Regions from separate parts of the Homo sapiens genome. Here regions 2 and 3 are each linked to region 1. Evidence: promoter capture Hi-C in human tissues and cell types (Jung and others, 2019). All regions are on one chromosome and are shown on one strand. Each heading gives the region's core, a stretch centred on a gene start or on the middle of the fragment in contact. The rest is flanking DNA. Distances are from core to core; before and after follow the strand shown. Region 1 overlaps TDRD12 (tudor domain containing 12). Region 2 holds the start of TDRD12 (tudor domain containing 12). Region 3 holds the start of SLC7A9 (solute carrier family 7 member 9).

Region 1 (3,398 bases), core at 600-3,099:
CAAAAAACAAGGAACAATTTCTCAGAAGCAACAATCCATTCGATCGTTTCTAAAAGGATGTCTTCAGGTTAAGTCCCCCATCTAAGGAGTTTCTCTTCTAATCTCAAGTCTGGAGGGAGGAAGGAGAAGGATTTAAAGAATAAACAGTTTTTTCTCTCTTTTTATTTTACTTTTTTTAGGGCCTGTAATACCTGCTGGAGATCAGAGATTCCGTCAGCTCTCAAAGGATCAGGATTTAAAAACTGCAGTAATCTGTAAGATAGTTAAAAGAAGAATGTGAAGAAAAAGGTGTTTGTTTCCTCAGTTGAGCTATTCTTTTAGTTCTTCCTTGACAGAGATAGCAGGGGCTGCACAGCCCAAGGCTCAGCTGTACAACTGCTGCCTGTTCTGTTCTGCTTGGTTTATGAGACATGAGGGCCTGTACCTGTGCTGCCACAACCCTGCCACCCAGGTCCCCCTGAGAGTATCTGAGGGGCCCCAGCCAAGCTCAGGAATCACTAGTGTACTTTACTATCTTTATTTTATGGATGAGAAAACAAGACCAGATAGGACTTGTCCACAGTCACCTCTGCTGAGAGGAGAAGAAATTTGAAACTGCTTTCCTCTAGATCCAGCCCAACCCCAACATGGGTAAGGCCAGTGGCAGTCACAGAGAAGTCACAAGGCACAGACATGGCGGGGACTCCAGGATAAAGATGGTGGGTTACACACATGGCAAACTGCGCTCCTTCCTAAAGCCTCATTCCTGTAAACGCGTTTTTTCTTTTTTCTTTTTTTTTTGAGATGGAGTTTCGCTCTTGTTACTCAGGCTGGAGTACAGTGGTGTGATCTCAGCTGACTGCAACATCCGCCTCCCAGGTTCAAGAGATTCTCCTGCCTCAGCCTCCTGAGTAGCTGGGACTACAGGCATCCACCACCACACCCAGCTAATTTCTGTATTTTTAGTAGAGACAGGGTTTCACCATTGTTGTCCAGGCTGGTCTCGAACTCCTGACCTCAGGTGAACCGCCTGCCTCGGCTTCCCAAACTGCTGGGATTATAGGCGTGAGCCACTGCGCCCGGCCCTGTAAATGGATTTTCAAATGCAAAAGCCACAAGATCCAACTGTTATCAGCTGATGAATGGGTACATGAAATGCACTCCATGCACGCAATGGAATATAAGTCAGTCATGAAAAGGCATGCTGTGCTAGTTTATGATATGGCAGAGATGAGCCTTGGAAACACTGTGCAGTGAAACCAGCGTCACCAAGGCCCACCCACCGTATGAGCCCATCGATATGAAATGTCCTGAACAGGCAAACCCATAGAGACTGAAAGCAGACAGCTGGCTACCAAAGGATGTGGAGGGAGGAAAATGGAGGGTGACCGCTAATGGGTATGCACTTACTTGTGTGGTTGCAAACTCTGTGAATACACTAAAAATCACTGAATTGTACACTTGAAAAAAGGGTACATGAATCATATTTCAAAAAAGCTATGTTTTAGAGACAATATTCCAGAACAGAATGTTGGAAGCTAAAAAACAGATGGACAAACTGGTAACAGCCCCAAGACAGTTGACCCTGAGCCAGCCGCGGGAGGCCTGACCCTATCTGCAGAGAACAACCTTCAGAAAGCTTAGGAATTAGGGGCAGGCTCCCTGGCTGCAGCAATGTGGCAGAGGGGGGAACCTCTGCATCACCTTACACTACTCCACACCAGACGGCCACTCACCCCAACCCGAGGAAGGCCAGGGGCTGATTCTCTGGAGAGGATAAAGCAGAACTCTCAGGACTCGGGGCTGTAGGCCTAGCTGCAAACAGAGGTGCTGAACTGAAAAGAAGGAGGCTAAGCACACACAGGACAGTGAGACCCAGCCTGTGCCTCCCACTCAGCTCCCAGGACACAGGCAGGTCTTTAGCCCCAGGGGCCAGAGACAGGAGAAGCCTTCCCTTGGGCATCTGGACGGAATTCAGAGGTCCCTGTACTCACAGCAGCTCGCTCCCCAGAGAGACCCACAGCCCACAGGCTTGGCACACTCAGAGACCCTCACCGGCTCACTGGGCCTCTACGTTGAAATACAGGCAGACAATCAAGGACTGCATGACATCTAAGGAAAGCCTCCAGCCTTAAAAACCGAGTAATGCACCCTGCAAAAAAAGAAACAGTGTAGGGAGAAGAAAACTCCCCCACAAAAATCATTAGTCTCCTTAGAGAAATGAGAGAAACTACCATATATGTGAAACGAGGACAGGACACTGTCAGAAAAAGAAAAGAGAAAAGAGAACAAAAGGAAAACCCTTGCAAATTAAAAACGTGATATTAGAAATAAAAAACACAATAAAATGAGTAGAGGACAAAATTGTAAAATCATTCCAAAAAGTAAAGCAGGCTGGGTGTGGTGGCTCACACCTATAATCCCAGCCTTTTGGGAGGCCGAGGCAGGCAGATCACTTGAGGTCAGGAGTTTGAGACCAGCCTGGCCAATATAGTGAAACCCTGTCTCTACTAAAAATACAAAAATCAGTCAGGTGTGGTGGCAGGCACCTGTAATCCCAGACTGAGGCAGGAGAATCACTTGAACCCAGGAGGCAGAAGCTGCAGTGAGCCGACATCGCACCACTGCACTCCAGCCTGGGCAAAAGAGCGAGACTCCATTTCAAAAAAACAAAAAAAAAGAAAAAAAAAAGTAAAGCAAAAAGACAAAGAGATTAAAAAAAGAGCAGGCACTTTCAAGATGGCCAAATAGGAACAGCTCCAGTCTATAGCTCTCAGCAAGATCAATGCAGAAGATGGGTGATTTCTGCATTTCCAACTGAGGTACCTGGTTCATCTCACTGGGACTGGTTGGACAGTGGGTGCAGCCCGTGGAGGGTGAGCTGAAGCAGGGTGGAGTGTCGCCCCACCTGGGAAGCACAAGGGGAAAGGTTTCCCTTTCCTAGCCAAGGGAAGCCATGACTGACTGTACCTGGAGGAGCAGTATACTCCTGCCCAAATACTGCGCTTTTCCCAGTCTTCACAACCAGCAGACCAGGAGATTCCCTCCTGTGCCTGGCTCGGCGGGTCCCACGCCCACAGATCCTTGCTCGATGCTAGCACAGCAGTCTGAGATCGACCTGGGATGCGGGAGCTTGGTGTGGGGAGGGGTGTCCACCATTGCTGAGGTTGAGTAGGCGGTTCTATGCTCACAGTGTAAACAAAGCAGCGGGGAAGCTCAAACTGGGTGGAGCCCACCGCAGCTCAGCAAGGCCTACTGCCTCTCCAGATTCCACCTCTGGGGGCATGGCATATCTGACCCAAAGGCAGCAGACAGCTTCTCCAGACTTAAACGTCCCTGCCTGACAGCTATGAAGAGAGCAGTGGTTCTCCCAGCACAGCACCTGAGCTCTGATAATGGACAGACTGCCTCCTCAAGTG
Region 2 (3,494 bases), core at 152-2,651, 69 kb after region 1:
CCCTTCCCCGAGGACTAGAACAACGCCCACGCAGAGCCCACGCGGTGAGCGGATAGGGCAACAGAGACTGGGGGCATGAGGGAAGCCCGGACCCATGGGCTGGGGCTGCCCGGGCCACCCGACCCTGTCCAGGCGCCGAGCCTAAGGGCCCCGTGGAGTACGGAGAGCGGGGCCCTGGGGACGCCAGTGTCGCTTGGCCCGGGTGATCGAGCATTCGGAGGAGCAACCAATTCCGCGCTCCTCCAGGTGCATCCCGGAGCACGCCAGGGCCCGTGAAACCCGGGCTCATCCGGGTTCTACCCCAGCTCCCAGCCCGGGGTGCCCCCTGGTGGGGGCGCAGGGAGGGTTCAGGTGGGGGAGGGCGGGGTGGGGTTGGAGTGGAGGTGGGGTGGGCTGCGGCTGGGGTGCAGGTGGGAGTGGAGATGGGGTGGTGGTGGGGTGTGTGGGGCTGAGTGTGGGGGGATGAAATGTTGGGGTGGAGGTGTGAGTGGGGGCGGTGGGAATAAGGATGGGGTGGGGACAGGGGCGAGGGTGTGACTGTGGGGTGGGCAGCGATAAGGAAACGGGTGGGAGCTGGGGCTAGGGTAGGAGTTGGGGGTGTGTGGGGTTGGGAGTGGGATGGGTTGGGGTGGGAGTGGGGTGGGAGTGGGGGCGTGGTGTGGCGGCATGGGATATACGGGGTTGGGATGTGTGGGAGTGGGATGGAGTGTGCAGCAGTGAGATGGGGTGGGGGCATGTGTGAGTGTGGGGGTGGAGCTGGGTGGGAGTGGGTGTGGGAGGATGTGTGGGTTGGGGGAGGAGTGGGCGTGGGGAGTAGGTGTGGGCTGAGAGGGAGTGGACATGGGGGGGATGCGTGGGCTGGGAGGAGTGGGTGTGGAGGGATGTGGAGGCTGGGATGGGGGGAGGGGTGGGGGCTGTGTAGGGTTGGGGTCGGGGGTGGGAGGCTGTGCGGGGCTGCGGTGGGTGTAGGAAGCTGTGCGGAGCTGGGGTGGGGGTGGGAGGCTGTGCGCGGCTGGGGTGGGGGTGGGGGACTGCGTGGGTCTGGCGTGGGTCTGGCTTGGCGGCGCTCACCTTCAGCACCAGGAGCTGGAGCATCCTCCTGGCGCCCGAGGGCAGATGGGCCCCCTCGCCCTGGAAGTCCCCTACCGTCGCGGGTGAGGCTGGCTGCGTCCGCCCCGGCCAGGCCCCCGCCGCGAGTGCGTTCCTTCCCTCCACCTTTAGCGCCTGGGCCCCCCGCGGCAGGTGCCCCACACTCCTCGTCCCCAGGAGCCCTCGCGGACCCCGGGGTCGGCTCGAGGCAATGCGCTCCGTCCTGGCAGTAACCAGCCCCTCGCTGCGGGATCCCTGCCTGCCTGGCCTCGGGCCTCCCGCACCCACCGGATGCCCGCGCACGCTGAGCAGGCCTTGAGGCGTCGGAGACCACGTGGTCCACCCAACGGCCCAACAACGTAAGGCACAGCGCCACGCGGTGGCCAGGAGGACTGACGCGCGGAGGCCCTGGGAGGCCCGGCTAGGGGTCGCGTGATTCTCTCTTTTGCAGCCAGCAGGACTGCCCTGCAGGCCCCAGGGACACTCGCCTGTCCCCCGGAGGGACAGAGGGGCCGCGTGCGGCTGAGTCCGTTGGAAACCACCTTTGCAAAATTGTAACTGAGGAAATTGTGATGGTGAAAGAAATCAGACCTAATCAACTCCATCTTGCCTCTAACCTTTAAGCTGTCCTTGTTTATTCCTGGGCGGAAGCCCAACTAACCTTGGGAAGGAATTCAGTCCATGGTTTGACTCTGAAACAAAATTGATAAGAGCCTGTGAATCCTGAAAATGTGAGATAGGTCTCAGTTCATTTAGAAAGTTTATTTGGCCAGCAGAGCGAGGTGGCTCAGGCCTGTAATCCCAGCGCTTTGGGAGGCGAGGGGTGCGGATCACCTGATAAGGTTAGGAGTTGGAGACTAGCATCCTCGACATGGTGAAACCCCGTCTCTACTAAAAATAGAAAAATTAGCCTGGCATGGTGGGGAGCGCCTCTAATCCCAGCTACTTGGGAGGCTGAGACAGGAGAATCGCTTGAACCCGGGAGGCAGAGGTTTCAGTGAGCTGAGATCAGGCCACTGCACCCCAGCCTGGGCGACAGAGTGAGACTCTGTCTCAAAAAACAAAACAAAACAAAAAATTTTGCCAAGGTTGAGGACAGGCGCCCCTGACACAGGAAGTCCTAACGACATTTGCTAGACGTGGTCGAGGCACAGCTTGTGTTAAAGTTGGAGGGTGTCCAGGTTCTTGGTGTCTTGAAGAAAGAATTTGACAAAAGGCACACACAAAGCAAGGAAGGAATGAAGGGTTTTATTGAAAAAGTACACTCCACAGTGTGGGAGCAGGCCTGAACACAGGGACTCAAAGGCCCGGCAGAATTTCTGTGAATTTAAATACCTTCTGCTTGGGGTACGCCCGATGTAAATGAAGACGGTGAAGTAAAGTTACGAAGTCATTTACTCGGTGTATGCCCTATGGAGAGGGTATTTCCCCTTATAGCTGAAGCGTGAATCGGCCTTATGTTCCCTACCTCCAGACCCTATTTTCCTGCCTCACTTGGTCTTTTACATTTTAGGGAGGCATGAGACAACAATCCTTGAATCAGCTCAGTGGATCAGCTGACACCACCCACACCGATAATCTGCCTCAACCAGTTCTGCCAAACCAACCAGGAAGAGTAAATAGCAAGAAAAACTCCAACAACCTCTGATTCCATCTTCAACCTGGCCAATCAGCACTCCCCACTTCCCAAGCTCCTACCCGCCCAATTGTCTTTAAAAACTCTGTTCCTCAAATGCTCGGAGAGACTGATTTGAGTAATAATAAAACTCCAGTCTCCCACACAGCCGGCTCTGCGTGAATTACTCTTTCTCCATTGCAATTCCCTGTCTTGATAAATTGGCTCTGTCTAGGCAGCGGGCAAGGTGAACCCATTAGGTGGTTACAAGTTCATTATTTTATTTTTAAAGAGACAGGATATGGCTCTCTTGCCCAAGCTGGAGTGCAGTGGCACAATCATGGCTCACTGCAGCCTTGAATTCCTGGGCTCAGTTGATCCTCCATCTTCAGCCTCTCAAGTAGCTGGGACTACAGGCATGCACCACCACGCCTGGATAATTTTTTAATTTTTTTGTAGAGATGGGGGTCTCGCTGTGTTGCCCAGGCTGGTGTTGAACTCCTGGGCTCAAGCCATCCTTCCGCCTCAGCCCCCTGAGCAGCTAGGATTACAGGCATGAACCACCACACCAGGCCCTCAGTTGGTCCTTGTTGCCTGCTAAGGGGCCCCTGTCCTCCTGCTTTCTCTAGGCCAGCCTACACCCCTTAAACGCTGTGAGCTGGAAGCCTTGGTGGTGAGGAAGAGTCCTGGACAGTCATGAATCCCTGGGTCTTCGTGGCCTCCTGGCAACATTTCCATTTGATCTGCACCTTTTGGAAAGGTTCCTGGTCCTGGATTTCTTCCCAGCTGG
Region 3 (3,734 bases), core at 689-3,188, 81 kb before region 1:
CCACTGCACTCCAGCCTGGGCGACAGAGTGAGGCTCCATCTAAAAAAAAAAAAATTGACAGCAGGGAGGTGAAACTTCAGTCACATGGCAGAAGCACTGGATACACAATGAACCAATGGTCTTCAAGAACTGAGGAAAATTTTGCTTTTTAAATGAAATCCGTATTATTTTCCATGAGGAAGAGCTTATGAGAATTACTTGAATACTTTCTGTGTATTCAAGGGAGGGAGAGGGTGGGACTGCGGTGAAAAACACAACTTTAAGAAACAGGCTTAAGAAATGCTCACCGTGGACCCAAAATGAACTGAAGTGGAGGTTTCTGACTTAACAAAGGACCCTCACATCCCGATGTTCCAGACTCGGCACTTGGAAGAGGCCCAGGAAGACCAGAGGGCTGGTCCCGGACATTCATGGAACATGCAAGTTCAGTGTGTTCCGTGAGGAGGCGCCTGTTGCTCGCCCTGCGTCGCAGGTTCAGACCCTGATCCTGGCAGTGCTGCCTGAGCCCATGTGGGTAGTGGGTGAGGTTGCAGGGCTGTCTGGCCCCAGCGGGGGACCACTGCCCCACCCTGATGTCCTCACGTGGTCTCCTGTCAGCCTGCCAGGAGCACTTTTGACCCAGGGGGTATTCTGTGGTGTTTTGCAAACATGGATGTGCCAGGTACTATGATGAGTGCTGCAACATTAGGAGGAGTGACCCCAGCAAGCCGGTGGGCAGGTTCTGTCTAGGGTGGCAGGACCTGCCACTAGCCTCTCTGCTCAGGGCTCTGGGCATGGCAGGCAGGTAAACAGGTGGGCCCTCCCAAGATGGGAGGTGACGAACTTCTAAATCAGGACCGTGCCTCTGGGACAACAAGGGTCCCTGTGCTCTGCAGACGGCTTTCAGAGAAACCTGTGCCTCTCTCAGGTCTGCTTGCCCCAAACTGCTCCCAAACTGACCCCCAGAGACTGGCCCAGCTCCTTCCATCCCTGACCTTTGCTTCCATCTGATATCTGGGATGCAGTTAAGTTTGGCCCAAGGCAAAGCTACCAGAGTTTTGGCTGAAGGTAACAGCTACGATGCTTCAGATGCAGTGCTTATGCTGTGCCAGGCTGTCTCATAAGGTCTCATAAGGTGCTTCCTTCCCTATCTGAAAGGGCTTCGTGCTGACCCCTGAGGCTGCCGCCTGAGCCTAGGTCCAATCGCAGTGCGGGAGAACCTCTGCTCCCTCCCAGAGAGATCCAGACCCTGGCAGCCCTGGATGCGGACCGGAGCTTCCTGGCCTTGTGTTGCCTGTCCCCCTCCGTTTCCCCGAAGGGGAAGGTTTTGTGTCCCTTGTGATGAGCCAGGACATGGCTACGTGAACAGCACCACAGCCAAACCTGATGGGCATTTGGCCGCAGCTGCAGGGAGGACACGAGGCCCTGCATTGCCTCAGGCCTGCTTGTGATTCCAAGTGGTGAAGCCCCATCACTGGTAAAGAGGAGTGGGACGGGCTCAGCCGCTCTCACCTGCTCAGCCAGAGGCAGGCCCTTGGCTTGGGGGAAATTCCTGGGCGGGGAGGAAACTGACCAACAGCTGAGTTACGCACACACAGCGGTTCCTGTTTGAGCTGCCTGACTTGGGTTTTAAATATAGCCTATTAAGGCAATTAGCGAATTGGTTCCAAAGTTTATCTCCTCTGATTCCCAAAGATAAAAGAAGGCATAATTTATTTTATCTTTAGGTAAAAAGTGTAGACGATTTGGGACCATCTGGTTTTAAAAAAATAATCTGACCTAGACACAAATGAACAAAACAAAAACGGTTTTGGAGAGAAATTGGTGTTCCTGACCCTCCCCTTTTTTGTGTGGCGTATCTAAGCTTCATTGCAAAAAAAAAAAAAAAGGTGTTTAATAATTACCCTTATTGACCTCTGTACCTTCTGGACTTCCTTTGCTCCTGGGCACAAGACATGGCCATTTCTAGGGTTGGACCGTGCAGGCACGGGCGGTCAGCTGGGCCGCAGCTCCTCCGGCTCTGCAGGGTCACGGAGGAAGGTAAGTAAGGTCAGTAGGTGATAGAAAGGCTCATGGCTCTCCTGGCCGGGGCCTGGACAGATAATTTATTTAGAGAGAGGGTACAGGAGTGCATGGTTTTCTCCTAGTTCAGTCTGGAACTGGGTTTCCTCGGCAATGTTTTCTTTCCTTTCATCACTCAATGAAAAAGTACCTGGCCAGGCGTGGTGGCTCACCCCTGAAATCCCAGCCCTTTGGGAGGCCGAGGTGGAAGGACTGCTTGAGGCCAGCCGGGGCAAATAGCAACACTCCCGTCTTTATAAAAAATATTGTAAAAATTTAAAAAGTACAAAGAAAAAGTACCTGTATTGTGGATCTGTGATGTATGGGAGTGCCTTTAATCTTGGGAAGGAATTATAAGACAGACACTCCTTACCTGGACTTGATTCTGATAAATACATTCCACAATATTTTCATTTTTTAATTTTTTATATATATATTTTTTGAAACAGAATCTCGCTCTGTGGCCCAGGCTGGAGTGCAGTGGCATGATCTTGGCTCACTGCAGCCTCTGCCTCCAGGGTTCAAGTGCTTCTCTTGCCTCAGCCTCCCGAGTAGCTGGGATTAACAGGCACCCACCACCACACCCAGCTAATTTTTTTTTTTTTTTTTTTGCATTTTTAGTAGAGACGGGGTTCGCCATGTTAGCCAGGCTGGTCTCAAACTCCTGGGCTCAAGTGATCCACCCACCTCGGCCTCCGAAAGTGCTGGGATTACAGACCTGAGCCACTGTGCCCAGCCCGGGATGTTGTTAAATATTTCTTTTTACTTTTGAAAAAAAATGAAGTTGACCATAGAGGTAGAATGACTTTCAAGGCACAGGCACGTGGGCCAGGAGGCTCCCGGGGCCTGTCTGGGAGAGAGCTAAGCAAGCAGCTGAGCTTTGGAGAGCAGCGGGGAGCTGTGTTCCCCTGCCTGGACAATGTTAATGACTGACTTTGACTCTGGGGCCCAGCGCATGAGCCCTGAGGGACTGGCAGCGGCCCCCACCTGCAGCAATAACCAACACTGTGCTTTTGCAGCCAGCTCCCCTAGTCCAGGCCGAGCTTGCACTTGCGTCTTGTCTGCTGCTGCTGAACCAAGATTTAGCTGTGCGCCCTCCTTGCAGTCTCCTGGAACCAGCAGGAGGAAACATGGGGGATACTGGCCTGAGAAAGCGGAGAGAGGATGAGAAGTCGATCCAGAGCCAAGAGCCTAAGACCACCAGTCTCCAAAAGGAGGTAAGGCGGTCTCTGGTGGGGCAGGCCCTTTGCAGGTTAGGCAAGGGCGTCTGAACGAGGGGCGCAGGCAGTGAAATCCGGGCCGATCCCTAGTGACACGGCAGAAGATGTACTCTTTGATTTGTGAAGTACATCTTTAAAGGGATAATCTCTGGACTTACTTCTCTTTCCCTCTCGCCAGGGAATTCTGCATCTTCTTTTTTTTTTTTTTTTTTTTGAGATGGAGTGTTGCTCTGTCACCCAGGCTAGAGTGCAGTGCTGCCATCTCGGCTCAATGCAACCTTCACCTCCCCGGTTCAAGGGATTCTTCTGACTCAGCCTCCCGAGTAGCTGGGATTACAAGCACCCGCCACCATACCCGGCTAATTTTTGTATTTTTAGTAGAGACAGGGTTTCACCATGTTGGCCAGGCTGGTCTCAGACTCTTGGCCTCAGGTGATCCTCCCAAAGTGCTGGGATTACAGGCGTGTGCCACTG

Evidence for each region. Contacts are between HindIII fragments. The study calls those that stand out against the background at their distance.
Region 2: a contact is called between the fragment with the promoter of TDRD12 here and a fragment that was not itself captured in region 1, in 4 of the 25 tissues and cell types used here (H1 embryonic stem cells, mesendoderm cells, pancreas and 1 more).
Region 3: a contact is called between the fragment with the promoter of SLC7A9 here and a fragment that was not itself captured in region 1, in 3 of the 25 tissues and cell types used here (aorta, bladder and spleen).

What each region holds. Positions count from the first base shown.
Region 1 is chr19:32,787,385-32,790,782 of GRCh38, reverse strand. TDRD12 (tudor domain containing 12) reads right to left here. Exons shown (of 33, transcript NM_001366102.1): 12 at 192-252. Among named protein-coding and RNA genes, the nearest start is that of TDRD12, 69 kb to the right of the region's middle. RefSeq lists an enhancer at 2,966-3,260. The HindIII fragment of the contact is 4,950 bases long and covers 1-3,398 here.
Region 2 is chr19:32,717,674-32,721,167 of GRCh38, reverse strand. It overlaps TDRD12 (tudor domain containing 12), which reads right to left and starts at 1,401. Exons shown (of 33, transcript NM_001366102.1): 1 at 1,072-1,401. The coding sequence starts at 1,095. The HindIII fragment of the contact is 27,705 bases long and covers 1-3,494 here.
Region 3 is chr19:32,867,971-32,871,704 of GRCh38, reverse strand. SLC7A9 (solute carrier family 7 member 9) reads left to right here and starts at 1,938. Exons shown (of 13, transcript NM_014270.5): 1 at 1,938-2,019; 2 at 3,060-3,257. The coding sequence starts at 3,171. RefSeq lists enhancers at 588-1,110, 1,111-1,633, 3,075-3,650. The HindIII fragment of the contact is 18,950 bases long and covers 159-3,734 here.